3 separate regions of the Homo sapiens genome follow, and all the other regions are linked to region 2. The links are contacts of gene promoters, found by promoter capture Hi-C in blood cells and fetal thymus (Javierre and others, 2016). All regions are on one chromosome and are shown on one strand. Each heading gives the region's core, a stretch centred on a gene start or on the middle of the fragment in contact. The rest is flanking DNA. Distances are from core to core; before and after follow the strand shown. Region 1 has its middle 17 kb from the start of FUCA2. Region 2 holds the start of STX11 (syntaxin 11). Region 3 overlaps PHACTR2-AS1 (PHACTR2 antisense RNA 1).

Region 1 (2,946 bases), core at 431-2,930, 620 kb after region 2:
TGTTTGACACTGATTTTAAAAAAAGAGGCATCCAGTACAGCTTTTCAAAGCAAAATGTTTCTAAACTCTATTAGTTTATTTAGCTATTTTCATTGAATACCATTTCCAAAAGGTTAGGGATAAAAACTGAAGATGAAATAAGCATAGTTTTAATCATATAAGAGTGTTTAATACCAAAAATAAAATTAAAAAAAATAACAGAAACAAAAAAACTGTACCTCACTGCTTTACCACTCTCTTTAAAGTGATGACTTATGTAAGATTATAAAAGAAATAAATGAAAATTTATCAACTAGCTTGTTCCGCCCATCAGTGCTAGGAACACTGCCTTCAGCAGGAGCCCAAATGTGGGCTGGGATCTGTCTCATCTCTGGCCAGTGTCTTCCTCCTCCTTGCTGTGCCAGGAGCCCCTCTTAAAGCCACAGTGCCACTTGGAGGGCTCTTTATACATTGCAGATTCACTTACAGAAGGAGGAATTGTTATTCAAAGGCTTTAATACATAATGAAAGCTATCCACATTTCATAAATTAGACAAGCTAGGGAGCTAAACGACCTTTGTAACTGAATTTGTCCCTATTTCATCACTAGTAGTCTTTAGATGCATGAATGTGGATTTTTCATGGTAATGGAAACAGGTGTGACACTCTGGTTAAAATCAAAACTTCCTGAAGGCATTCCTTGAGACAATACCCATCCCCTTCTAACTAATTATTTTTATAATTGCAGTTTTCTTTTGCTATCTTCCCCATCCCCCAAATATATTAAAAAGTTTTATTTCTCAGAGTTTATATGCAAAACATGCACATAAAAATATGGTATGTTTTCTTATGAAATATTTTCCCAAAATACTTGGCATTAGAACTAAGTGTCTTTCACTGACAATAGCATTTCCTTAATATAGGCAGATAAAAATGACTGCAAGTAAGAGAAAGATCAAAATATTATCTGAAAAGAAACGGCAGAGATCAAAATTGACGATACACGATGAAAATGAAATAAGAGAAAGGCAAGGAATCCAGGTAATCAGCAGAGTGAGGATAAATCACCATCTGATAGTGAAAGTAGGCCTGCTTTTAAAGTCACTTAAAAAAAAGAGAGAGAAACAAAAAACAGGAAGTTAGTTTTGATGGTCTCTAAGGCCTCTTCTGGTGTGGAATGTGATGGTTCTGTGAAATTTTTTCTTTGTTTTCATTTTAAAATCGAAGATGAATTCATTTTATGAGAGAGGCCAAAGCTGGCTCATAGTTTTGAGCCCATCCCACCATTTCCCTCTAGAGTACCAGGCTGCAAAAGTAAACACCTCCTTTACCATGCTCTCTTCCTCCCACTCTTCCTTTCTTCTTCTTACTCTAAAACAAACTCATAGAAGTGGAGTGTAGGATGGTGGTTATCAGAGACTGGGGTGCGATGGGGTGGATGGAGAAAGAGGAGATGTTACTCAACAGGTCCAGGGTTTCAGTCAGTCAGACGGGAGGAGGAATAGGTCTGGTGCTGTATCGCAACAGCATGGTGACTATACATATTTTGGAATATATACATTTTGTGGAATAATGAAAAGAGAGCATTTTAGGTGTTCTCACAACAAAGAAATGATAAATATTTGGGCCAGATGCAGTGGCTCACGCCCGTAATCCTAGTTTTGGGAGGTTGAGACAGGCAGATTGCTTAAGCCCACGAGTTCAAGACCAGCCTGGGCAATATGGCAAAACCCCATCACTACAAAAAAACTACAAAAATTAGCCAGGTGTGGTGATGTGCACCTGTACTCCCAGAGACTCTGGTGTCTGAGGTGGGAGGATCACCTGAGCCCAGGGAGGTTGAGGCTGCAGTAAGCCATGATTGAGCCACTATACTCCAGCCTGGGCAACACAGTGAGACCCCATCTCAAAAAAAGATAAATATTTGCAGTAATAGATAGGCTAATTGTCTTGATTTGATCATTCCACAATCTATACATGCCTTGAAACTTCATGTATGCTATAAATATATGCAATTATTACTTGTCAATTAAAAATACAATAAAACATAAATAAATTAAAACAGCTACTATGTCCTAACAGGCTCAGGCTCTGTGCTGGGCACACAGAAGTGAATAGGAATCTCTCTAATCTTGGACTAGCAGCATAGGAGACAGGGGTGTACAAACTACAGTGGAGAGATAAAGGAGGGAATAATTGACCCTTTTGGGGTGAGTCAGGAAAAGTTTCAGGACACAAGAAGTGGCTTATACAAGTGAGTAGGGATAAAAAAGAGGAAGAGGCAGGGAAGGCATCCCAGGCAGGGAAAATACCATGCATGCGGGCCCAAGGCAGGAAAATGGAAGCGAAGAGGAGGGAGGTGAGTATGGCTGGAGGCTTGGAGGAGAGCGGGGACGTGCTGGAATGTGAAACAGAGGCCTGTAAAAAGATTTAGGCACAGAAGAAATGTGATCAGCATCACTGTCTTTTGCTTCAATTTTGATACCTCAATTTGATCCCTAAGTAATGCATACGTTTAATTTGTGGTGGTGTTTTCAGGATTGAAATTCGTGTATATAAAGCACTGGGTGTAATGAATGGCATGTAGTAGGAGCACTGCTCTAAGACATTCAGGATACACATTCTATTTCTTTGTTTCTATAAATCACACCTAGCTCAGCTCCTTCTACAAACATTGCCTAAAAGACATTTTCCAGGATGCCTTCCTTGTCTTGAACCAAACAAGAACTTTTGGGCTTATGAGTGTAGGAAGACAGGAGGGGACTATCTTGAGTGTTAGCCTCAGCAATTGCTGCTTCTGTGACTCTAACTCTCTCATTGAAGGCAAGTGATTCACTAGGGACTCCTTCCATCCCTGCTACACTCAGCCATGGGTTTTTTTTTCTTTTATACCTTTATTTTTAATTGACACACAATAATTGTGCATATTCGTGGGGTACATAGCGATGTTTCAATACATATAATGTA
Region 2 (3,346 bases), core at 34-2,533:
CACCAATTTAGTAAACACAAACTGTCTGAAATATTTTGATTTTAGAGAGTTACTTACAATCACCACATTAAATGATACCTTTCTCCCATGCAGTGAAAATGACAGCAAAATGGTCATTGAATAATGAAATTAATTTTCTCTTGGGCATCTGTGGCAAAGCACATGATTTCAATGGTTATCTTAGATCAGCCCAGTGACCTTTACTGGCATGTTGTAACATCAGGCGCCTTAGGAAACTGAAAACTCAATCGTCACTTCCCATACCACTGCCCCAGGTTGGCAGGGCAGGCATTTCACATCTAGAGTCTCATTTTAAAGCAAGCCTCGCTTTTCAAAAGTTCATTAACAAAGTCTCACAATTAAGAGAGCAGCCCTGTGACTCATTTTTGGATACCTGTAAATAACAGCTCCTCCCTCTGCTGAGAAACGGCTGAAACAAGTGCGTGAGAACCACAGGAAGTAATACAGATCTCAGCTGGTGTCAGCGGAGTCTAGAAAAAGGCAGAATTCCCTCTCAGGACGGCGTGGCTCTCGCAGGCATTGCCACTACTTCTCTCCATGTTTCTAAAACAAAGTCTTACGTGGGCTTCGAAGGGACTCCTCGAAGGCTCTATCAATTTCTCCGTCTTTCCTGGCTACTGAGTGACACCGCCAAGTTCAAGTCAAGAAGTACCCATTCTGGTGTTTTTGACACAGTCACCCTACTAGGAAGTGAAGAGGTGATAATAAAAAAACACTCCAGCCTTTCGATTTAAAATAAAAGTAGTCTTGGGTGGACACTTTATAAAGGCAGCCTACCAACAGGTATCCCTAAAATAATTCTTACGAAGCACTAAATCCTAAGTCCCTCAGCCTCTGAAATTAAAAGTAATTTTAAAAAATCATTCTGCTTTATATGAGAAACCCAATGCTGTGTTTCCGAAGGTGCCCAGAGGCGGCGTGAGGACCTGCGCCAGATCCAAAATCCCACCTAAGGCACAGCCGCGGGTCCCGAGCCTAGACAGTGCCCCCGCCCCGACCCGCCCTCCCCGATCTCTCCGCGCACGGGGAAAATAGTCAGGAAGAGAAATGGGGGCTCAGGAAGAGAAAAACAAACCTGGACTGGGAGCGAGAGTGCGAACCGAGAAGCCCCTCTCCCGGCAGGGCGCGCGTCCCCTGTGGGCGCAGCGATGGAGAAGGAAACCTGTTGCGCGACTCCCGGCGGCTCCGCTCCCGGCGCCTCCTGCGGCCGAGGCTGAGTTCCTCCACGGCCGCCCGAGCTCCGCGCCGCCGCGGCCGCATCTGGGCGCCGCCGGCTCAGCCCCCGCCGCTTAGGAAGCGACCACAGCTGGGGACCAGGCCCCGCCCCGGGATGACAGCGCTGGGGCGCGGCGGCAGCCGGCTCACAGAGCGCGGGTTCCCGCCCCACCCAGAGTCCATGCGCTCGGGACCGCCCGGAGCCGGGGACGCGCTCCAGCCCCTCCCGCAAGCCCAGGGGCGTTCCCGCGGGCTGCGCGGACCGGCGCGGGGAGTGGGATGTTTGCCGCCCAAGACACTTCCTCCGCTCGTCCTCTGGTCCCCAGGGCAGGGAGCGCGCTGGACTTCCCCCGGGAATCCCCGCTGCGCTGGTGACATTTGCAGTCCGGTGCGTTGCCGCGGCGAGGACGCTGGAAGCCGTCTCTGAGCGTGGGTGTGGCTGCGGAAGCTGCGGCAGGTCCTGCATCCCTGGGACCCTCGAGGACGCGGGCGAGGAGCCTGCGGTCACACGGAGGCCGAGCACCGCCTTCCCAGAACCCTGCCGACCAACCTCTCTCCAGTCGGCCTCAACACCCGCCGGGCTCATCATTCTCTGGATATCAACTGAGCGTCCCCTTGTGTGCCCACCGCGCTCAAAAATACTGCCAAGACCCACCCTCCAGGTCCCGGCACTTTAACGGGGAGGGATAAATAGAAAGTGTGGATTGTGCCAGGTGGTGGTAAAGCACCTTGAAAAACAAGGCTGAGGCTGAAAAGTAAGGAAGTGATACTCAAAAAAGGAAAAATCGGGCCGGGCGCGGTGGCTCACGCGCGTATTCCTAACACTTTGGGAGGCCGAAGGGGGAGGATCTCTTGAGCCCAGGAGTTTGAGACCAGCCTGAGCGATGTGGTGAAAGCCTATCTCTACAAAAAATAAAAAAATTAACTGGGCGTGGTGGCGCACGCTGTGATCCCAGCTGCTCGGGAGGCTAAGGTGGGAGGATCACTTGAGGCTGAGAGGTCAAGGATGCAGTGAGCCGAGATCGCGCCACTGTACTCCAGCCTGGGCGACAGAATGAGACGCTGTCTCAATTGAATGAGAAGAAAAAAAATAAAACTAAAGAACGAATCCTGCCTTGATGGCAGAATGTTTAGACACAGGAACCACCTGAAAGCTCCCAGTTGCCAAAGATGGAACCATTTGAGCAACGAAGTAAACTAAACAAGGTAGTATTGGATTACAAGCCAAAGTAAAAAAATCCATGAGTCTACACTGATATAAATAAATAATTGAATAAATAAATAAAAGGCGGAGAGGAGACAAATCTCCTATACAGAATAATTCCAAATAATTTATGTAGATCATGTACCCTAGGCTGTGCACAGTGACTTCCTCCAAAATAGTACAATGTGGAAAGGGAAAAACAGTAGGTTTACAATGGAGAAAGCCGACAGACACTACCCCAGCCAGATGTTCTAAGCCAACGTCAACAATCGTGACTCATTGATGGCATGTAGTCAATATGATGTGATGAATGTGGCATATTACATGTGTGGTCTCCCTCCTGGAAAACCATAACCTCAGTCTCATAATGAGAAAAATATCAAACAAATTCCAGTAGTGGAACATCCTACAAAATACCTGACCAATATTCCTCAAAGTTGTCAGGTTATCAAAAGTAAGGAAAGTACAGTCCAGACGTGGCTCACGCCTGTAATCCGTACACTTTGAGAGGCTGAAGCGAGAGGATTGCTTGAGGCCAGGAGTTCGAGGCCTGATCTGGCCGACATAGCCAGATGCTGTCTCTACAAAAAATAAAATAAAATAAGGAAAGTCTGAAAAACTGCCGCAGCCTAGAAGAAACTCAGGAGACGTGAAAACTAAATGTAATGTGGTATCCTGGATGGGATCCTGGGACAGAAAAAGGACTTGGGGAAAAACTAAGGAAATCTAAATAAAGCATGGACTTTCATTAGTAATAAGAATCAAGGTTGATTAATTAGTTGTGAGGAATGTAATGTAAGATGGTAATCATAGGGAAATCTGAAATGGAATTTATGGAAATTCTGTACTACCTTTGCAGTTGTTCTGTAAATCTAAAACGGTTCTAAAAAATACAGTTTATTTTAA
Region 3 (3,104 bases), core at 104-2,603, 580 kb after region 2:
TTTCACAATGACTCCAGAATACTTGGGGCGCTAAAGTCACTTTGGTACTTCGAGGTAGTGAATTAAAGAAGTGAAAGTGTTACAGTGACAAGAGAGGCCACTGCTCTGGGAAAGACACAGAAAGGAGCGCGACGTGTAGATGATGAGGAACACGGAACTGAGTGTGTGGCTGCTAATGGCTTTAGATAAATCATCTACAGAGACGCTTCAAAAGGAAATTCTGAACCAAATGGAATGGGTCAAACTTAATCGGATCCTGATCCAAACATTCATTGATGAGACAATGGGGGAAATTTGAATGCTGACTGACTAGCTAATGTTATTAATGTTAAATTTTTTTTAGTATGATAATGGCATTGTGGGGTTTTTTTTTTTGAAAAGTCCTTATTCTTTAGTATTACATGCTGAAATATTTGTGGGAAAAATAATATGATGTCTGGAATTCATTTAAAAATATTCTGAGGTTAGGGAAGGCAAGCAGATAGGCATGAGGAAGAAACAATTTTGACTATGAGTTAGTAAGAGGGACAGGGACCATGTGCATGAGGGATCATTAGACTATTCTACCTACTTTTGGTTTATATTTAAGTTTTACTAAAAAATGGCTGGACACAGTGGCTCACATCTGTAATCCAAGCACTTTGGAAAGCCAAGGTAGGAGGATTGCTTGAGGCCAGGAGTTCAACATCAGCCTGGGCAACACAGTAAGACCCCTTTCTCTACAAAACAACAACAACAACAAAAGAATAGCTGGGCATGGTGGCATGTGCCTGTAGTCCCAGCTACTTGTGAGGCTGAGGTGGGAGGATGGCTTGAGCCCAGGAGTTGGAGGCTGCAGTGAGCTACGATTGTACCACTGAACTCCAGCCTGGCAACAGAGTGAGACCCTGTCTCTAAAAAAAAATACAAAATAAGTAAATAAATGATAATAATAAAATAAACTGGCAAGATGCAGTGGTTCATGCCTGTAATCCCAGCACTTTGGGAGGCTGAGGCAGGAGGATTGCTTGAGGCCTGGAGTTCAAGGCCAGCTTGGGCAACATAGCGAGATGCCATCTCTACAAAAAAATAGAAAAATTAGCAGGGCATGATGTGCACCAGAAGGCCTAGCTACTCAGAAAGCTAAGGCGGGAGGATTGCTTGAGCCCAGAAGTTGGAGGCTGGTGATCAGCCCTTCACTGTGTCTCATTGGGACCTAAGGATAACCCCCCACAAGCCTCCTGACTTCCACCCTGCCCATGCCCCTACCCTCTATTTCCAACACAGCAGCAAAGTGAATGCTTTTTAAAAATTATCTGTAGGTCAGTTCACTCCTCTGCTCAGGACCCTGCGCAGACTCCCCTTCCCGCCCAAAGTGAAAGCCCGCAAGACCCTGCCCTCACTCCACCCTGCAGCAACCATAGGCCCAGATCCAGCTTGGCAGGCTCCATTCTGGGGCCCTCCTACCTCCTTTACCCGGAATGCTCTTCCCCCATCATCCACTGGTTTTCTGCTCCAGGACTCTGTTCACTTATCACCATCTCAGCAGAGCTGCCTCTGCCCACCTAATGCCCCTGCTCCATGCCCACCATTTTTTGGCACTCTTTTTTTTTTTTTTTTTTTGAGACGGAGTCTCGCTCTGTCACCCAGGCTGGAGTGCAGTGGCGCGATCTTGGCTCACTGCAAGCTCCGCCTCCCGGGTTCACGCCATTCTCCTGCCTCAGCTTCCCGTGTAGCGCCCACCACCACGCCCGGCTAATTTTTTGTATTTTTAGTAGAGACGGGGTTTCACCGTGTTAGCCAGGATGGTCTCGATCTCCTGACCTCGTGATCCGCCCACCTTGGACTCCCAAAGTGCCGGGATTACAGGCGTGAGCCACCGCGCCCGGCCTGGCACTCTTGAATTTCCCTTGCTGCTGTACTTTTTCTTTTTTCTACTTACTTTTTCCACTTTCTAACATATTATGTATTTTTGTATGATGTGTATCCCTTATTTTCTGTATCTGAGCAGAGAGAATTTAATCTTGGCTAGGCTCGCTGATATCCTGCACATACCTAGAACAATGCCTAGCATGCAGTAGGTGCTCATTAAAATGAGAAGAATGAGAGAATGGATTCGTGAAAGCTGATTTTCATTCCATTCCAGCCACTTGCAACCACAAAATTCATGAAACATATCTATTGGCTTGAACTGCCATTCTTGCTAGAAGAATCTGCTGATGGTGATCAATGTTTTATACCACCATTTTATTGGTTTTCCTACATTGTAAAACCAATGTTTTACACCTTTTCCTTTGTAGAAAAGGGGAGCATCTCTACTTGTGATCACTATTCATGTATCTGGAGAAAAATACCAATCAATACATTTCCCATTATACCTCCCACATAGAAGGTTTTCATTTTGCTGAGGTTGCAGTTGTTATTTTAGGGACTGTTACTGTTTGTGACTTTGCCATTGAGATTCTGCCAAAGGCTCTGTTTCTGATCAGCAGGCCTTCCGAGAACTGCCGTCCGATCAGCCAGTGGCATTTACCAGGCACCTTCTCAGGGTGCTGAGCCCTTACATGATGCAAAGCACAGCCGAGGCCTCGTCAGCAGCTCAGCCATGACATGCTTCATATCCCACACGATTCACCTCTTGATCTTTAACTGTTTCATGGAGGGAAATTTTAAATCCAGGCTTCCCCCTCTAATGAATTCCCATAAATGTGCATGGGTGTTAAAAATACAAAATCCTAGCAAATGTTTTATATGATATAACAGCAGACTCCAATCCAGCAAAATAAAATAAATAAAATGACTAATCATGTTATAACTGTTTACTTAATTTTTACTCTTGGGCATTATTATGTGTCTCAGCCTTGCAAAGTGCTGTGATTACAGGCATGAGCCACTGCACCTGGCCAACTTATTTTATTATTAACTTATTTTTTACTATTTTTTAGAGACAGGTTCTCACTCTGTTGCCAAGGTTAGAGTGCAGTGGCATACATATATATATATATATATATATATATATATATATATATATGCACACACACACATACACACACACATATATGCACACACACATATAACTAAGACAGACTAAAAACTTAAAAAAGTAAACAGTTTAACAATTTTCT

Evidence for each region. Contacts are between HindIII fragments. The CHiCAGO score rates a contact against its expected background, and 5 or more counts as called.
Region 1: a contact is called between a fragment that was not itself captured here and the fragment with the promoter of STX11 in region 2, in 1 of 17 cell types (monocytes). The highest score is 5.2, in monocytes.
Region 3: a fragment that was not itself captured here is called in contact with the fragment with the promoter of STX11 in region 2 in 1 of 17 cell types (neutrophils); the score reaches 5.8 in neutrophils.

What each region holds. Positions count from the first base shown.
Region 1 is chr6:143,526,763-143,529,708 of GRCh38, reverse strand. No RefSeq gene overlaps it. Among named protein-coding and RNA genes, the nearest start is that of FUCA2, 17 kb to the right of the region's middle. The HindIII fragment of the contact is 5,428 bases long and covers 1-2,946 here.
Region 2 is chr6:144,148,454-144,151,799 of GRCh38, reverse strand. It overlaps STX11 (syntaxin 11), which reads right to left and starts at 1,283. Exons shown (of 2, transcript NM_003764.4): 1 at 1,097-1,283. RefSeq lists a silencer at 1,157-1,596. The HindIII fragment of the contact is 10,810 bases long and covers 1-3,346 here.
Region 3 is chr6:143,564,103-143,567,206 of GRCh38, reverse strand. All of the region lies in intron 1 of PHACTR2-AS1 (PHACTR2 antisense RNA 1), which reads left to right. It also overlaps a transcript of PHACTR2 not described here. Among named protein-coding and RNA genes, the nearest start is that of PHACTR2-AS1, 3.7 kb to the left of the region's middle. The HindIII fragment of the contact is 5,792 bases long and covers 1-3,104 here.